2 separate regions of the Homo sapiens genome follow, and region 2 is linked to region 1. Evidence: promoter capture Hi-C in human tissues and cell types (Jung and others, 2019). All regions are on one chromosome and are shown on one strand. Each heading gives the region's core, a stretch centred on a gene start or on the middle of the fragment in contact. The rest is flanking DNA. Distances are from core to core; before and after follow the strand shown.

What was found. Contacts are between HindIII fragments. The study calls those that stand out against the background at their distance.
Region 2: a fragment that was not itself captured here is called in contact with the fragment with the promoter of MAB21L2 in region 1 in 1 of the 25 tissues and cell types used here (IMR-90 fibroblasts).

The regions. Positions count from the first base shown.
Region 1 is chr4:150,580,885-150,583,426 of GRCh38, reverse strand. MAB21L2 (mab-21 like 2) reads right to left here and starts at 1,276. Exons shown (of 1, transcript NM_006439.5): 1 at 1-1,276. The coding sequence starts at 397. The region is part of intron 40 of LRBA (LPS responsive beige-like anchor protein); the gene reads left to right. LRBA-AS1 (LRBA antisense RNA 1) reads right to left here. Exons shown (of 2, transcript NR_149035.1): 2 at 2,193-2,542. The HindIII fragment of the contact is 7,167 bases long and covers 1-2,542 here.
Region 2 is chr4:150,013,405-150,015,946 of GRCh38, reverse strand. No RefSeq gene overlaps it. Among named protein-coding and RNA genes, the nearest start is that of DCLK2, 64 kb to the left of the region's middle. The HindIII fragment of the contact is 4,199 bases long and covers 1-2,542 here.

The DNA of each region.
Region 1 (2,542 bases), core at 27-2,526:
GGAAACGCGAGCGGATCTTACGCGCTGAGAGATAGCCCGACGCCGTGATGAACTCGACCCAGAGAGACATGCTCCGCTTCCGCCCATCGCTCAGTTTGAGCACTGCGCAGCCGGGCAGCGAGCCGTCGTCCACGAAGTTGAAGACGCCCATCTGGTTTAGGTAGAGCACCACCTCAAATTCGGTGGGCGAAATGACCTCGAGCCCCTCGTAGCGGGCATCGATCTCGCTCAAGGAGCTGATGAAGCGAGGCTCCTGCACCTCCACTTCCTTGAGCACGTCCGAGACCACCTTACAGACCTCTCGGATGGTTTTGGCGATGGCCGCCTTGCGCGCCTGACAGCGCTCAGTGTAGTACTTATTGAGCTGGTAAACCAGCTTGGCCTGAGCGGCGATCATGTTGGGGCACAGGTCCGGGCTATACACCGGCGTCTCGCAATACGTTGAGGGATCCAAGGCTCACGCACTGGTGGTGGCCCAGCGGCTTTCGAAAGAGGCGGTGCGCTCCCCGTTAAGCCCTACTTTCACTCTCGTTTTCCACCTGGGCTGACCGGCTGATACCGTAGCCGGCTTGTTTTTTCCTTTTCCCTCTTTCGAAACCTCTTTTCTTCTGCAGAAGAATTAGGGGAGAAAAGGTGATTTTCTAAAAAGAAAAGTACCTCTTGGAACCTTTTTGCTTTCTCTTGATATGTAAAGATGACCGTGTGCGAGAGAAGCGGGGTGGGCGTGAGGAAGGAGAAGGAGAGGGAAAAAACTCAGGATACCAAAAGGTTAGGCTTAGATGTCTGCAGCCGAGATTGTCCAGAAATCTGGAAATGAGGTTTTTTAAGTGCCAAAGTAAATTTAAAAATAAAAGCGAAACATTCAGTGGTTCATTCTTAAACTTCTCTTCCACGCTGATAGGACTTCTTCGCTCAGTGTAGGTGAGTGCCTTCTTCCTCACCCTCCCCCAAATGGAAGGTGCAGGAGGTAATTAATGTCCAGAGAGCTGCGAAGTACAACTCAGTCCGCCGTGCACTTGGAGGTTTGCTGACGCCCCACAGTCTCAGCGTGTTGGTCTCGTCTCTTCTCGGGGGGTCGTGTTATCGCAGTTTTCCTCTTTTCCTACTGGAGGCGTTGTTTGGACTGGGTTTGTTTGTTTGTAGTGGGTTCTCCTTGTGTTTCTTTAGGTGCAAACCGCTGGAAGTTGTTTGATAATCATTTCTGCTTCGTAATTTATACTTTTGGCCCTCACAAAATCCGTTTTAGTGTGACGAAGTCGTTGCTTGCGTTGCATCTGGGGTGTAGTTATAACGATTCAGGGTTTTCCTTCTTCTCCTCTAGCTTGCTTTTACAGATTCCACTTTCTGAGTCGTCTCTCCCCCTCCTCTCCCCTCCGACCTCTTTCTCGCCCCGCTCTCCCCCTGCTTCTCTCCCCCGCCCCCCTTCCTCGTGCTCGCTCTCTCTTCTTTCCTCTAACTCTCTCTGTCTCTCTCTCTCCCTCTCTCTTTCTTTCTCTCTCTCCCTCGCTGTTTCCTGGAGTTATTTAGTTTATGAATGGTCCCAGGGCCATCATGAGGGGGTGGAGCTTCAGTTCCTACAATCGCTATCCGAGCTGTCAGTGCTTTAGCCAATCCGAGAGAGAAGACAGGCACGCTTGGCGAACGGTAGCAGCCACCACTGCACTTGATAAAGAAACAGGGTAAAGAGAGAAGTAAGAAAATAGGAGGAGATAATGGGAGTCAAATGCTTGCACACATTTTACAGCCGTTCCTCTTTATCCTCCTCTCTTATCAGTAGCAAAGAAGAAAAAGAGTTTATATAGAAGGGACTCTCCTGGAGATGGCTGGAATAACGCGAGGGAGAGTAGCAATGGTTCAGAAAGGTTCACTTTTTTTTTTTTTAAATGATTCTATCAACATTGTGTAGTAGAAGGTGCAAACTGTAACAAAATTACTTTGGCTTGAAGGCAAATGGGAAGCGAAAGGGGAATCTGGGAAAGGACCTAATTTTTCCAGGTTTTTTCCTCCTTTAAAGTCATCCTCCTTTCTCTTCCCCTCCCCTCCCATTGTTGCCAAGAATCAGAGCAGTTGCTGTATATGTGCACCAGTGAGGGTTGGAGTGGATATAAGGTGAGGGTTTATAAATCTCTTTTTAGTAATTTCGATATGCTGTTTAAAAACAGGGCAGGGCAAAAACTAGTCCAAGCACCTTGTTTGATAATTATTTCATAATTAAGATTCACATGTATTTAATACCATTATTTTATCGTTACAAGAATTAACTAGTTACGAGAGAGAAAATATCTAAGTTGTGAGAAATGGTGCAAACTTACATGTCGTAGAACTTAGTAGGATATACTTTTAAAATAAGCTACTAAAATTGCTTCAAACTTAATGAAAAACAAGGCAAGTAAATGTAAACCTAAAGTTTTCTTAAAATCTTACTGTTGTAAATCTAATTGTGAATGTATTCTTAGGGGGTACAGGTACAGAGTTTCATTTGTAAAATGATTTTATTTTCATAATTGACTCTTGCTTTTAAAAGACTTCACTGCCACAAAAA
Region 2 (2,542 bases), core at 20-2,519, 570 kb after region 1:
GGGAGAAATTCAAGCCAGCTGCAGAAATTTGCATAAGTAATGAGGAGCCAAATGTTAATCTCCAAGACAATGGGGAAAATATCTCCAGGGCATGTCAGAGGCCTTCATGGTTGCCTCTCCCATGGTTGCCCCTCAGAGGCCTGGAGGCCTATGAGGAAAAAATGGTTTTTGTGGGCTTGGCCCAGGGACTTGCTGCTTTGTGCAGTCTTGAGACTTGGTGCCTGGCATCTCAGCCATGGCTAAAAGGGGCCAACGTACAGCTCAGGCCATTACTTCAGAGGGTGCAAGCCCCAAGTCTTGTTAGCTTCCATGTGGTGTTGTGCCTGTGGGTGTGCAGAAGAGAAGACCTGAGATTTGGGAACCTCCACCTAGATTTCAGAGGATGTATGGAAATGCCCGGATGTCCCGGCAGAGGTCTGCTGCAGGGGCAGGACCCTCATGGAGAACCCCTGCTAGGGCAGGGCCAAAGGGAAATGTGGGGTGGAGCTCCCACACAGAGTCTCTACTGGGACACTGCCTCATGGAGCTGTGAGAAGAGGGTCACTGTCTTCCAGACCCCAGAATGGTAGATCCACTGACAGCTTGCACTGTGTGCCTGGAAAGGCCGCAGACACTTGCCAGCTGTGAAAGTGGCCAGGGAAGGGGTGTGGGGTTGTTACCTTCAAAGCCACAGGGGTGGAGCTGCCCAAGGCTGTGGAAGCCAGCCCTTTGCATCAGTGTGCCCTTGATGTGAGACATGGAGTCAAAGGAGAGTAAGAGCTCTTTGGAGCTCTAAGATTTAATGACTGCCCAGCTGGATTTTGGACTTACATGGGGGCTGTAGCCCCTTTGTTTTGGCCAATTCCTCCCATTTGGAATGAGCACATTTATCCAATGCCCGCAAACCCCATTGTGTCTTAGAAGTAACTAACTTGCTTTTGATATTACAGGCTCCTAGGTGGGAGGGACTTGCTTTGTCTCAGATGCAACTTTGGACTCGAACTTTTGGGTTAATGCTGGAATGAGTTAAGACTTTGGGGGATGGTTGGGAAGGCATGATTGTGTTTTGAAATGTATAAAGGACATGAGATTTGGGAGGGGCCAGGGATGGAATGATATGGTTTGGCTGTGTCCCCAACCCAAATCTCATCCTGAATTGTAATCCCCAGGTGTTGAGGGAGAGACCTGGTGGGAGGTGACTGGATCATGGGAACAGTTTCTGCCATGCTGTTCTCGTGATAGTGAGTGAGTTCTCAAGAGATCTGACGGTTTTATGAGACAGTTTTCCCCGTTCTTGCTAGCTCTCTCTTTCCAGCCACAATACGAAGAAGGTCTTTGCTTCCCGTTCGCCTTCCGCCATGATTGTAAGTTTCCTGAGGCCTCCCAGCCATGGGGAACTATGAGTCAATTAAACCTCTTTTCTTTATAAATTACCCAGTCTCAGGCAGTTCTTTGTAGCAGTGTGAACACAGGCTAATACTTCATGTATTTCGGTTTTGAGGATATCTTTAATGACATGAAGTTGTCAGCATGTTTTCCGAGAATGAGAAACTTAAAAGCAGTTTCTCTCAAGAATTAGAGGGACTTCACTTGAAAGTCGGAAAAAAAATGTTTTAAAAAGTGATACATTTATTATGTGCCAGGAACTCTTCCAAGCACTTTGCAGGGATCAGTTAATTTATTTCTCACACTAGCTCTAAGTTGTAGTGCTATTATTACCCCTGTTTTTATAGTTAAAGAAACTGAGGTATAGAAAAGTTAAGTATCATGTACAAGATAATATCCCCAACATCTGGACATATGTTTTCAATTCACTTTCACAAGCCTGGGGGTGCTATATCAACTATGCTTGTACCAAAGTCACATGAACTGAGACTGTAATTGAATAAGGCACTTAAGTAGTACCTCTGCATAGAGGCTACTCTCAATGAAATTCTGATTATTTTTTCTCTCTTAAGGTGGAAGCCCTTGCAAAACTTAACCTTAATAGCTTATCAACAGTTTCCCCTCAACATTGACACTGAAGTTAACAAGTTGTTTATTAAGGAGCTTTTGGAGTCAAGTATCAGAAATTTCCATAGTGCCTGGAATATCCTATTTGTTAAAAAATCAGATTACAGTTTCTAGAATTCCAAGAATTATATCTAATGTTGTTTGTGATATTAACATGGTAATAGCAGAAAGTGAACTTACAGAAAGTTTTTATTTCAATATAGTGATAGAGGAAAAATATATTTCTTAGGCAACTATAAAAATGACCCTGGTCATCATCCTACTGAAGATAGAACATGGAAAACCCATGATGTTCTTTGTAAAAAAAGAAACGCTTCCAAGCTTCTAGGATTATTTGGTTTCTAACATTTTTTTCTTCTTCTTCAAAATGTGTCATTTTTGTCACACGTTCTAGAAAGACCCTCTGTGGTGTTGGGCTTCCAGTAGAAGAGCATTGTTCATAGTCTCAAGTTAGTATTCATTTCTGAGTCAGAAATGGTACATTATGATGAGCATGAACCTGTTTCTTATTACTGCTGCTCTCCCAGCAGAGATAGAGAAGTACTAAGGC